Linked DNA regions of Homo sapiens: region 2 is linked to region 1. Evidence: promoter capture Hi-C in 16 types of primary human blood cells and fetal thymus (Javierre and others, 2016). All regions are on one chromosome and are shown on one strand. Each heading gives the region's core, a stretch centred on a gene start or on the middle of the fragment in contact. The rest is flanking DNA. Distances are from core to core; before and after follow the strand shown.

Region 1 (7,300 bases), core at 1,370-3,869:
GGATTTGATAAATAACCGCTGTTTCATTATGAATTACAGATCTGATGAGGAAAGCCCCAAACCATGGTTTTAAACAACGATTGCCGTTTTCAGACAAGTTTTCAAGTCATCTGGCTCCACCCCGATAAAATCTTGCCACTTAGCCAGTAAAGAACTTGTACCAAGAATATATTTTCCAGTATAATTTCCCATGCTTGAAAAGTTCATTAAGGGAAAGCAAAATCAATTCCTCAAAAAAACTTCCTTTGAGCAAGCCATCTACCTGCTAAGGAAATGTCCAAATACACAAAAATATAAAAATCAAACTAAGAAACCACAGATCACACTTTTAACACCTTAACTTTAAGAAACCTACGAATCAGATTCTAGGCATAAAATCCTGGAATCCAGAAAAGTAATTTTGATTGAACTACTGACAAGCTGACTGCGGTCTGGAAAAAAAAAACCACCACCATGTTTCACAGGTGCTTTTGTTGTTGTTCACCTTTGCCTACCAACTTTGTATGCTCAGCACTTAATGCTCACAGCAGAGTGTAGAACTAAGTCCATACTCAGTCATTGTCAACCAATGATGAAACAGCCAATGTCTAAGAGTTTTAAGCAAACATTTCAGATCAAATATTCTGGCTGACAGCAGCAGCACTGCCAGTAGCTGTATTTCTTCCTCTCTTCCTCACTGCAGAAACAAAGAGCCCTTGTGTTGCATGTGGGTCCTGCTTTAATAGTAAGCAGGGGCAGCAGAGAAAGAAGGTCCTGCTTTCAAGACTGGTGGAGCATGCAGGCCTGACAAAGTGTCATAAGATGCTATTTTGGAGGGAAGAAGAGAAAAAAAAAAAAAGACAAAGCTTTTTTAAAAAGTACCAAGAAGCAGTAGATTTGAGCTTGCTGAATTTTAATTAGAAGACTAGCAAAACAGGCAATACAGCCAGCTACTGGCAGGCCTTATCGCTGAGAGCAAAAACACACTGATCTTTCAAAGGGCAAACTGGTTTAGGGATCAATACACTCATCAGAGGGCCTTTTCTGACAGTCTGCAATTATAGCCATCAGTAATCAGTACCAATTTTAGAGACACTTTAAAAACCCAGCCATTAAGTCTAGATTTTTAAACAAAGCTCTGCTTCCTGGAGGATATTCTTGTGAACAGCATCAATGCTCAGGACATTAGCAGTTACTTTTTTAAGCTGGTGATAATCTCTACTACAACTCATCTTCCAGAAACAGGAGTCATCAGCTTTGCACACCTAGACACTACCACATCCTAAACACGGTTGATGAAATAGAAATTATCAAACTTTCCCACACTACTGCACTAGTCTGAAATTCTACTTGGGGAAGGGGGAGGAGAGTGAGAGGGGAAAAACACGTATGCCTAAAGGAGTAAGCTGTGACCTCCCATGGGCACCACCCCACATCTCAACATGATGGAGCAAATGAAACTGGATGCCATCAAAATAATGAGGATTAATACCATTTTCAAAGACAATCAAAACTCCCTGGTTGGAAGGTCCCATTTTTCTTAGCACAATTTATTAGTAGCAATAGTGGCATTAGTATCCACCGTGATATTCAGGTCCTACAGGTCCCCCAAATTCTCTACCTAGAAGCCTACATAGTCGTATTTTTCCTGACTGAGAGGGCTTCCTTTCCAATCCCTACTCACTCTTAACCTTATAGTGAAGAGATAAGGCCCCAAAGACAGTGATGATGGCCAATAAGTGGCTAAAAAGAGAGCAAGAGGAACGTTTTCCTCTGAGGTCCTCTCACAAAGGAGAGGGAATTCAACCACCCCAGCTGCCCAAAGACCCTACACTGCCTCCTATATTCAGAGTGCAGCCATCTCAGAAGTTAGAGAAGGCTTCTGGAATCTCGCTGGGAACACTGGTTGAGTCCACAATGATTGCGCACAGCTTGTGAGCTCTCTAGGCACAAGGAGCATTATTTAGTCCCGACCCACGGTCAGGGGAAAAACAACTGCCCAGGCTGGGAAGAAACTGCTTTGGGAGGCATCGCTGGACAGCTCCCGTTGTAGGAAAGTTCTTCCCTCTCGCCTGCCTTTCTGCCTCTTCCACCTGCCGGCAGTCAGGCCTCTGAAGCCCCACAGAGAAATCGGTTCCCTCTTCACCGGGTGGCCCTTCAAATACGCTCAGAGAGCTGTCGTTCACCGAGTCATCTCTCCCACAAGCGTGGCTGTGGCATTCTCAACCACATTTGACATTCCATGGCACGGGGTTTCTATTCTCCCCTTTCCTGCACCCTCCCCTAATTGTGCTCTTGTCAGGGCAAGGAAGTGCACACCCATGCCCACACGTAGGCGTAGAACCCAGGGCCTGAGAGCCCAGCGCGGGAGCTTCGGGTGGCCGCCCGGCCGCATTCACTGGGAGCCGGAGCCCTGACTGGGAAGCCCCGACTCCCCGCTAGCACAGGCGGTCCCGGCCACGGCGCGCTCACCACCCTCCTCCGTCACCTGGCGCTTGTTCATCTTCTTCAGGTCCCCGAAGATATCCAAGCCGGACGCGGGGAGATGAGCCCCCACGGCGCCCGCACGCACCATAGCAGGGTCTCCGGGGACCTAGCGGCCCGCCGGCTCTGGGTGGCACAGACGGCTGCGGAGCACCTGCCGGCCCCCGCCCACCGGCCCAGCGTCCTTGCGGCCACGTGACCGGCGACTCGCTTGGGCGTCTGGGAATCGTAGTCTCGCCAGTCTTGGGCACTGGCCAGCCAGGAATGAACCTGAAGGAAGAAAACTACCACTCCCAGAATGCTGCGGGGTGGGCACCTCGGCCAGTGAAGACCCGGGGCTCCTAGGGAGGGCAGCTACAGGGCTCCGGAGCCTTGTCCGACCCTTCGGAGGGAACATCGAGCAGCGAGTGACCCCGCATACCTCGGGGGGCAACTCGGGGAAGGGACTACTCAAGAGGAGCTGAATTTCCCGACTCTGGTCAGGCGCCAAGAGGACACCTAACTCCCGCTCGCAAATCACCTAGCCGTGTATCTTGGCTATTGGATGACTGCAGCGAGGAAAGGTGGTGCCTCTACGCTGGGGCGGGCTGAGCCGAATTGGGGCGGGGCCTAAAGATGGACTGCGGTGGGCGGGGCTTGGAAGAGGCGGGACTTTTGAGGCCGCTGAATTCTGCATTTTGAGTGGTACCACTTGTATGCAAGGAAGTATCTTTGAATGCCTTGACCATAATTGGGTTGCAATAGATATTAATTAAATGAATACATAACCACCTAATTTCATACACGAGAAAGCAAAGGCCCAGAAAGGTTCATTGACATGGCCAAGGTTAAGTGGAAATGAGTGGAATATAACTCAAAGTTTTAAATTTAGAAGTCCTAGATCATCACAGTTCTGATCCTAGATTACCTTTGGTTCATTCACTCACTCGTGTATGCATTATGCATTCTTTATTGTATTTATTTATCCACAAATCTTTATGGAGCACCTACCATGCACCTGGCCTTGTTCTAGGCACTTGAGAAACATCAGTTAACAAAACAAGCAAAGATTCTTGCCCTCATGAAGCTTATATTCTACCGAAGGCAGACATAATGGATAATTTATACGGTACCTAAAGGATGGAGGTGCTATGACAACAGGAAAAGCAGATAAGTTGAATGGGGAGGTCTGGGGGAAAGGATCAGGTTGCAATTTAAAATATACCAGAAGCTGACTTACCATGAAGCTAATGAAAGGTAAGTTCTGGGACCCTTCAATTGCAAAGGTGTTTTTCCAAGGTGTGGGAGAAACTTAACCATAGAATGTGTAAAACTTTCAAAAGCAAGATATTGCAATTGCTATTGGTTAAGAGTTCTGTTTCTTTGCATTCCAACTTCACCTCCATTACATTTCCCCTCCTGTTGGAGGGACAAGGAGAATTTTGGGGATCCAGCTAAGGAGGAAACGAGTTGGAGATACATTTGGTTTGAGTTTAGTGAATTTATTTATGTGGTTCATGGTCTTTCCTGCCATCCTCGTGTAAAAAATGGCTTCTGGGAATACTGCCATCCACTGGGCCAACTCACCTGGCACCGTGGCAGGAAGTCCCACTGGAAGTGGCATCTGATATGAAAGTGTTCTGCAGCACTTGACCTTGGAAATAAGTGGATGGAGAGGAAAAACAAGGTTTGAAATGTACAGATCCAGAAGCTAGTCTGTGTAAAATTCTTCCAAATATCAGATGTATAAAATTATAAGTGCAAGACACAGTGCTTAGTACATAGGAAGATATGGTGATAGTTAACCCTGCCACTAATAATTGCTGGAACTAAGGTGGCAGCACTAAAGGTTCAGAATCTGGATACATTTTGAAGAAAGAGTCTTCAGGATTTTTTGAAAGAATAAATATAGGGCGTGAAAGAAGAAAAGAGATTGAGGCTGACTCCAGGGTTTTTAACCTATGGAACTAGAAGGGTAGAGTTCCCCTCAACTTCAATGAGGAAAGCTGTGGGTGGAACAGGTTTGTGGGAATAGAGTAAGGGTCCAAAATGTGACCAATAAACCTAGAACCCAGTGTGATATCTTCACATCAGAACCTTTGGCCCAGCCTCCAGGCTCCTGCTTAGGTTGAGCATTGGGTGAGAAGCAACACAGGAAGACATTGGGTAGAAGTCCCTGCATATTGTCCAGTCTTAGACTAATTTATTCACCTCCATGAACCCTTTGCTCATCCACCAAATAAAAACCGTATTTGTTACAGCCACTTTGGAAGACAGTTTGGCAATTTCTTCCAAAACTAAGCATCCTCTCACCATATGATGCAGCAATTGCACTCCTTGGTATTTACCCAAATACCAGCTTGAAAACGGATGTCCACACAAAAACCCGTACACGGATGTTTTTAGCATCTTTATTCATAATTGTCAACACTTGGAAGCAACCAAGATGTCCTTTAGTGGGTGAATGGATAAATAAACTGCAGGATATCCAGACAATAAAATGCTATTCAGTGCAAAAAAGAAATGTAATATCAAGCCATGAAAAGACAGGAGGGAAGCTTAACTGCATATTACTAAGTGAAAGAAGTCTATCTGAAATGGCAACATACTGTATGATCCCAACTACATGGCATACTGAAAAAGGCAAGAGATGTTGTGAGAGTCAAGTGAGGTATTAATAATATGCAAAAAAAACCTCCCATCTGACTCAAAATAGACTCTCAGAACCAGTAGGAGGAATTATGGCTACTATTAATATTTTTTTCTTAATCCAGGACATAAGTAATTAAGAGAACTAGAATGTTCACTTCATTTGTTCTGTCACTGGTGGCCTCTTCCCCAGTGAAGTACTCCTTCCCGTGAACTCTAGAGGCAAGACTATGGAGACAGTAAAATGATCAGTGGTTGCCGGGGGTAGGGGGGAGAGTATGATACTATAATGATGAGTACATATCATTATATATTTGTCAAAACATAGACTGTACAACCCCAAAGTGAACCCTGATGTAACCCGTGGACTTTGGGTGATAAGGATGTGTCAGTGTAGATTCACCAATTGTAACAAATGTACTACTCTGGCAGGGGAAGTTGATAGTGGAGGAGGCTGTGCATGTGTGGGGGCAGGAGTAGATGGGTATATCTCTATACTTTCCACTCATTTTTGCTGTAAACCTAAAACTACTCCAAAAAAATAATGCCTAAACATTTTGGATACAGCATATAGTGCTCAGGTGATGAGTACACTAAGATCTCAGAATTCACCACTAAAGAACTCATTCATGTAACCAAAAACCATCCGTATCCCAAAAATTATTGAAATATAAATAAATAAATAATAAAAATAAAGTCTAGTTTTAAAAAGTTTTTCAACTGTTGGTAGTATCTGCCCTGATGGTTATGACAATCACAGGTAGGATAAGTAAAAATGTTTTGTAGACTGTAAATTTTATAAATGTTAGATGCAAGCATATGTCATGGAGAGAATCAGCCCCTGTAAATGGAGGTATAAACCACATTGGCCTGCACAGAACCACTGGAGCATGGGCCCTGTGAAGATGTCTTCCCCACTTTTGTGAATGATACGCGCTGGATTTGTTTCTTTGGGCTGCCATAACAAAATGCCAAAGTCAGGTGGCTTAAAACAACGGAAATTTGTTTTCTGACATTCTGGAGGTTTTGCTGAGACCTGCTTCCCCCAAATTCTCTAAGGAAGGATCTTTGCTTGCCTCTTCCAGATTCTGGTAGCCCCAGGCATTCGTCGGCTTCTACAGCATAACTCCAGTCTCTGCCTCCATCTTCCCATGTCTTCACTCTGTGTCTGTGTCTTTCCTCTTCTCTTCTAAGGTTAATGGTCATATTTGTTAGAACCCACCCTACTCTAATGTGACCTCATTGTAACTTGATTACATCTGCAATAAAAGACCCTGTATCCAAATAAGGTCACAGTCACAGGTACCAGGTGTTAGGACTTGAAAATGTCTTCTTGGAGGACACAATTCAACCCATAACATGCAGTTTGTATACTGGAATAATAGCTTAGCAGAGAGGTTTAGAGCCTAAGCTCTAGCAAAAGACAGTCTTGGGTACCAATCCAGGTTCTAAAACTTACTAGCTGTGCAGCCCTGAGTAAGTTATCTTACCTTTCTGTGCCTCTTTTTATAGTGATAGTGGTTACACCTACCTCACAGGAGTAGGTTATGAAGAGTCATTTTTATATGTAAGGCACATAGAATAGTGTGTGACACATAGTGCTCATTAAATGTTAGACATGATCATCATCATCATTAATTACTACCAATGATCAGCAAGCACAGTGATCACCACCATTCGGGTTCATAGCTGAAGTCTTTACCATCTCTCTGCATGTATTACAGACATTCTAATGGCAGGTGTAGCTTGTTCTTAGTGTAACTCACATACACCTGGTGCTTTCCTGACCGGAGAGACGTGTTGTAAACTTATATTTTAACACTCATCAGGTCCTCTAACTACTGAGCTGTTCTCATGTTTGTTTTACCTTTGGAAAACCATGAACCCATTTGCAGTGAACCCAGTGACAGTCATCAGAAAATAGGATGTGAAGGACAGGGAGGCCACTGAGGACCACATGAAACAGAGACAGGCTACCACCACTAAGATGGAAGCCAGCACCAGCCCAAGGGCCACAGCGAGGAAAGTACGCTCTCCCTGCCCTGCATCCAGCACCATGATGAAGCAAGGCTCATGGGGCAGTGCTAGGTGGGTAATCTTTTATCAAGTTGTCCACTCCATCCAGCTCTACACGGCTGGGGGACAAGGAGGGAGATATTAATACCCACCCATCCCCTGGCACATAGAAGGCTGCTCTTTGGTGCAGTCT
Region 2 (6,683 bases), core at 3,678-6,177, 1.6 Mb after region 1:
TGCAACTCCATGAGTTTTCACAGTGAACACATCATGTGCCCAGCTCCTAGAATGCCCATGCAGCCATAGGAAGGTGGAGCTAGAACCAGACCCCTCCATGAAGCAGGGCCGCAGAGGCCCGGCACTTCTGTGAAAAGTAATCCAGAAAATTGGCTCTCTAGCCCAGAGAAGCACAAGGAAGCCTGCCATCTTCCCAGGGCTCTGGGGAATGCCTACTCCCTGGCTGTGAATTTATACAACTGCAGGGAACAGGACAACCAAGTTGAGATATTCACACAAACTTGGTCTAAGACTGGTGGGACCCCTGGGTCCTGGAAGAAGCAAATCAGAAAGGCCTCTTAGGGACCCTTCCACCACCCAGGAAGCAGAGAACCCTGGAAAAAACACCCAGTATGAATGAGCTAAAAAAAAAAAAAAAAAAAATCACAATGGGCACTTTTTTTTTTTTAGATGGAGTTTCGCTCATGTCGCCCAGGCTGCAGTGCAACAGTGCAATCTTGGCCTACCACAACCTCCGCCTCCCAGGTTCAAGCGATTCTCCTGTCTCAGCCTCCTCAGTAGCTGGTTTACAGGCATGTGCCACCATGCCCGGCTAATTTTGTATTTTTAGTAGAGACGGGTTTCTCTGTGTTGCTCAGGCTGGCCTCAAACTCCCGACCTCAGGTGATCTGCCCGCCTCAGCCTCCCAAAGTGCTGGGATTACAGGCGTGAGCCACGGCACCCAGCCACAATGGGCACATTTAGTCATGCAGTATAAGTGAAGAATGGAGGTCACTCAGAAGACACAGTTTTTCATTACCTACAAAGTTCTACATCAATCCGCCCTGGTTCCCCTACCTCTCGCCGCCCCCCTACTCAAGCCATGTGGCCTCCCTGCTGTTCTTTGACAGCCTTGTTATGGGGCTGAGTTGTGTTCCCCCAACAGACATGTTGACATCCTAGCCCCCAGGTACCTGTAAACATGAACTTATTTGGAAACAGGGTCTTTGCAGACGCAGTCAGGTTAAGATGAGGTTATTAGAGTAGGCCTTTAATCCAAAATGACTGGCGTCCTTCCAAGAGGAGAAGACAGGCTGTGACTGTGGAGGCAGAGGATGGAGTGCTGCATCTACAAGCTGAGGAACGCCAAGGATTGTTGCCACCGCCATGAGCTAAAAAAGGCAAGGAAGGATTCTCCCTTACAGGTTTCAGAGGGAGCACAGCCCTGCTGACACCCTGATTTTGCATTTCTAGCCTTCAAAACTGGACGACAACACATTTGCCTGCCTGGTTTGTGGTATTTTGTTCCAGCAGCCCTAGGAAATGAATACAAGCCTCAAATGTGTTCCAGCGCTTGCTGGCCTCTCTGCTTGCAAGCCCTTCCCCGGACAACGCCCTCACTCCCTTCAGGTCACTGCTGAAATGCCACCTTTGCAGAGAGGCTGGTCCTGACTGCACTACTGACCTGGGCAGTTGCGGCCTCTCTCCCTTCCTCCACCTCCTTTAGCTTTCTTCTGGTCCCTAGCCATACCTGACAATATGTTGTATGTCTTTCATCTTTGTTGTAAAACGATTGTCTGCCTTGCCTTCTAGAAGGTACGTTCCGTGAAATTAGGGACTGTCCGGTTCATTGCTGCACACCCAGTGCCTGCCATGTGCCTGACATAGACTGGAGTCTCCCATACGCTTGTTTCATAAGCGAATGAGCTGTTTGAGAATGTTGTTTGTTTTCCTTTTCACTCTTTTATCCTCTACATGACCTAATGTTTTGCTCATGGTAGATGGTCAGGAAATATGGGCAGATGGATTAATAAACCCGTCACCACCATTGGGCTGAAGGCTCTGCGTGGTGAAGAGGGGCAAGTCAAAACGCATGGCATGTTGGCCTGGATTTGGTGGCCTCTTTGTTGTAAAATGATTCTAGGGACAATTGATCAGATTTCTCTGAGTAATCATTATAGCTTACCATTTGTTACATGCAGCCACTGTTTCTCTTGCCCTGAATGCCTCCTGATTCCTCCCTTCCCCAGTTATTTTTCTGATTAAGGAATCAGAGTTGAATAATCTAAATTTAGTTTGTGTAGCTCAGAGGTGCCAATCATGGCAAATAATGAATGAAGAGATTTCCCACCCCTTTCCCTGAAGCACTGAGCTGAAACCAACAAATTCATTTTATTTAGGATCACAGGCTGCACTCAGAGTGGTGTCTGTGACAGGTGAGTGCTTTATTCACTAATGAACTCACCAGGCCCCAGACAAACCCTCTCCCTCCTGGTTGGGGTGCTCCTTATCTCCGTTAGCCCACACACTGTGCCTTTTTAGCCTTCTGTTTGCTAATGGAATTGGTGTGTCATTTTGTTAAAAATATGTTAAGTCAGAAAAAATTCATATTATGTATATCATATGGTTCCGCAAATTTCTTTAGCCTTTCAAGGGCTTTTCTGGTAAGCCTGTATTTAGAGTTCACAATTTCTGGATTAAGGACTGTGTTTTCTACCAGTTTTGAAAAGGACCAACATAAAGCACATTTTATCTGCTTTCACTGCATAAGAACATAAAAATTTACTCATTGGAAAGCTGTTATATTCAATGTTTGTAAGAAATAAGCCATAGATTAGGAATAACAATTGTTATGGTACTCTCTGTTGGGGAAAAAGAATGAAGTTCTGTTTTCAGTTATAACCCATGAGTTCTTAATATGTGCACCAGGAGGTTTTATACATGAGGAATTTTGAATGAGTTTTTAAAAGTCAGTAAAGCACCTGTAATCCCAGCTACTCGGGAGACTGAGGCAGGAGAATCACTTGAACCCAGTAGGCGGAGGTTGCAGTGAGCCGAGATCGTGCCATTGCACTCCAGCCTGGGCAACAGGGTGAGACTCCCTCTAAAAAAAAAAAAAACAAAAAAAATTAATTAATTAATGAAAAAATAAAAAATAAAAAAAGAAGTCAGTAAAAATGAAAGTGCAAGATGCGAATAAAAGAAATGAAATGATGCTGATTCATTAAAATATTTAATAAAGTATGTCTTGCTAGTTCCATAATCATTTCTGGACAGAAATTTAACCCACGCCAGCCATTGATTTTGTACTGGTGAGACTTGGCACCTTTATGCCTTGTCACTAATCATCAGCGTTTGCCTGGGAGGGACCAGAAGCCCCCTTATCTCTACCCAGCAGGAGGGCCCAGCACCCTGGATGGAGGGGATGACTTTCTCCAGGGCCTCCCAGAGGGGACAAGAAGAGCCTTCATAGCTCAGACGTCTAACCCCCCCGGCCATTTTATTCTCTGGCCTTGTCTACATGTCTGCCAGCACAGCATTGCGAGGTGTGCAGCCTTTCAATTTAGTTTCTTTAGAAGAAATGGGCTCAGGCCGCGCATGGTGACTCACGCCTGTAATCCCAGCACTTTGGGAGGCCGAGGTGGGTGGACCACTTGAGGTCAGAAGTTCGAGACCAGTCTGGCCAACATGGCAAAACTCTGTATCTACTGGAAATACAAAACAAACAAATAACAACAACAACAACAAAAATGGGTTCAGACTGTAGGTAGAGAAGTATGTTATCCATGAAGATCACCTCTTTACAGGGCAACTTAAGAAGACTATAATTTTTTTATGAGGGTAGAGAATAGCCACACATATAAGGAAGGTGGGTTGATACCTGGAGCAGGTTTTACTGTGCTTTTCTCAGGACATCCGCTTGGATATGAAGATCATGTAGGTAATATGAAAGGCTATCCATTTAATTTGACATTTTGCATTGGGCTTATAACCATCAGGAGGACCAACTTTAATAAGAAATAAACTAATTCCATCAGTAGCACATATTTAAGCTACAGAAAACTGGGTTTCAGCTGAATCTAGACTCCATCTTCCCTGAATGTTCCATATGGCTTGCCCCCTTTGCTCAAATGTGTATAAGGCCTTTGCTCGAATGTGTGAGACTCTGACCCACCTGCTTCAAATTGCATTAGTCCCTTCCCCCACCCTACCCCATCTCTTTTACCTTGCTTCATTCTTCTTTTGTCCTGAGAGGGAAAAAGAAGAGGGGAGGCCGTGGAAGGGCTCCATCATTCAAAGTATTACATGTTGTGATTATTTTCTGTGTCTCCCCTAACCCCATGTAAGCCCCCGTCTACTCTTTTCACTACTGTTTTCCCAGTGCACATAGTAGGTGCTCAATATTTGTTCAATGAATACCGATGCCTGAGACCTTTCTGTACCAAGGGCTGGTTTCCTACTCCACAATGCACTGAACATATATAGGCAGGGTGGGCTGACGGAGGTGTAGGAATGAAATGGGCGCCTGTTCCTCCCAGTGATCTCAGTGTGCGACCTTGGGGGCGGGACGGGCGGCTAAACTGGGAAGGTGCGCGGATATGATACAGACAAACCTCATCATACCGTCCCTCCAAGAAATGCACTTGCCAGGCTGGCCTTCACTTTTCCTAATGCTCTTCAGTGAGTTTCACCTGTCAAATTCTGCTACACAGAGAGGGTGCAGAGAAACTGAATAATCCCTTTTTCTATTCTGAAAATAAAGCAAAACAAAACAGGATCTGCACACTTGTGTTGTGACTAGGCAGGCAAACTGGAGAACTGAGGCAAAAGCATCCTTATATCTAAATAATAGTAATGGAAACGTCGAAAAAAGTTATTTGCTGAGTCATGGCTGAGGATCCTGACTTCGCTAGTTTGGCAGATGCAAACAGGGCACGCAACTAGGAGTCCAGCAGGTTTTGCAGTGACCTGCGATGGTGGTGGGGAGCGGGCTTCTAGCTCAGCCCCCGGGCCCATTTTCACGCAGGGAGCGGCGCCCAGCTGGGGCGGGCTCTCCGCGAGGGGCGTGTCTCTGCCTGGCCTCGCCCGCCCCGGCCCGGCAGCGAATGAGCGGGCGCGCCGGGAGGGCGCGAGGTCAGGGGGCTGGGGACGCGCGTGGGGATCGCTACCCGGCTCGGCCACTGCTGGGCGGACACCTGGGCGCGCCGCCGCGGGAGGAGCCCGGACTCGGGCCGAGGCTGCCCAGGCAATGCGTTCACTCGGCGCAAACATGGCTGCGGCCCTGCGCGCCGCGGGCGTCCTGCTCCGCGATCCGCGTAAGTGGGTCTGTCGCGGCGGCCGCCAGGGCCAGGATCCCTGAGAAGGCGTGGGCAGAGCGGGCAGCTGGCGCCCGGGCCCTCGCGCCCGGGGGATTCGGGGAGCGGCCTTGGGGGTGCTGCGAGCAACCGGGCGAGGGGCGTCGCGGAGAAGGGAGGGCTGAGGGCAGCACTCAGGGCTCGGGAGGCCGCGGGGAGGGCGCCCGGATCCAGGAGGCGCAGGTTCAAGTCCCATCGGTCGGCTGGGTGGCTTGGAGCAGTGGCTGGAATTTCCCAGAGCCTTGGTTATTGTCACCTGCAATAACCAGGCTGTTGAGAAGATTACGCGAGGGAAGGTATGTTATGGGCCTGCCATAGAGGATAGTAAGGAAGGCATCTTCATCATCACCACCATGGACATCTGCCCTGCAGTTCCCTCCCTGCTGAGGAAAGCCCATGGTCCTTGGTCCCTCTGTGCCCACTTCTCCTTAGCAGCGGGACCCCCCGTGGGGCAGCCTGGGCTAGCGTTTTCTAGAGATATCTGGGGAACTTGTAAGACCCAGGAACAGCCTCCCACGTTTCTGATGCAAACCGTGAATAGGTTGTGACCACAGGATGAGCTGATGGGACTGTGGATCTCACACACCTGGCTGGGACAGCATTTCCAACTGTGACACCTTGAACAAGGCACCTAACCTCGCCAGAGCTTTGGTAAATGTACATTGAAATCCTAATTTTTTTTTTAAGGCTTGCCTTGAACATGAGCACCTTGCCTGGCACACAGTAGTACACAGGCATCCTCAAGATGTCTAGCCATTCATGCAGAAGGCTGCCACGAATAAGATGCTTATTCAATGCATCCGAACGGTGACTGGACACAGACCGGACATATTTTTCTAAGACGTTCGTCAGTCTGACACCTACTTGGAGTGGAGGGAATCCCCTCTGAACCTCCATATCTCATTAGACGTGCCTTTGTTAGGAAAATACTAAGGACCCAGTGTACAATGAGGCTAGCTCACTAAGGGCGCTGGGGGACAAAGGGCATTGTTTTTTAAGAAGAGGCAGCACAGTGCCAGTCGTGGGGCTGAAAGAAGTATTGAACTAATCTTTTCTTTCACTGACCTTTCCTGTGGCAAATAAAGTCTGACAGGTCCTAGATTTGAGGTCGTGGAACAATATGTGAAACTTTAAATTATTTGTAGTCTAGGTTAAAAGTGGAAAGATTCAGAAACGCTAGCAGAAGTAGATTTGGAGTCTTATTTGTGTTACAGACTTTGATTTGAAGGCATAGTTATAATACTTCATCATTTTGGTTGATAGGAAAAGATCAACTTCTGTGTGAGAAAACACTGAGGATTATTTCCGAAAATGAGTTCTGAAAGTAAAAGTGGAAAAGCAAAGTTTTATACTTTATGTATTTAGCATATTACAGAATTAATAAGAAGCTTCCGGGGGTGGGCCATATATTATCTGTCTGTTTAGCTATCTATATGAATTATTTTTTTTCTTGGTGCCTTTTTCTTTCCAAACTTTAAACGTTTTGTTTCTTTTGTTTTTTTAAGAGATGGAGTGTTGCTCTGTCGCTCAGGCTGGTGTACGGTGGTGCCATCATAGTTCACTGCAGCC

What was found. The method cuts DNA at HindIII sites, captures the fragments that hold promoters and counts their contacts. A CHiCAGO score of 5 or more calls a contact.
Region 2: a contact is called between the fragment with the promoter of FECH here and the fragment with the promoter of SEC11C in region 1, in 2 of 17 cell types (non-activated CD4 T cells and naive CD8 T cells). The highest score is 5.9, in non-activated CD4 T cells.

The regions. Positions count from the first base shown.
Region 1 is chr18:59,135,203-59,142,502 of GRCh38, reverse strand. It overlaps SEC11C (SEC11 homolog C, signal peptidase complex subunit), which reads right to left and starts at 2,619. Exons shown (of 6, transcript NM_033280.4): 1 at 2,468-2,619. The coding sequence starts at 2,554. RefSeq lists enhancers at 795-844, 2,760-2,859, 2,940-3,029 and silencers at 2,580-2,719, 3,140-3,189. The HindIII fragment of the contact is 2,684 bases long and covers 848-3,531 here.
Region 2 is chr18:57,584,946-57,591,628 of GRCh38, reverse strand. It overlaps FECH (ferrochelatase), which reads left to right and starts at 4,927. Exons shown (of 11, transcript NM_000140.5): 1 at 4,927-5,075. The coding sequence starts at 5,009. RefSeq lists silencers at 4,746-5,105, 5,116-5,175, 5,186-5,235. The HindIII fragment of the contact is 11,690 bases long and covers 1-6,504 here.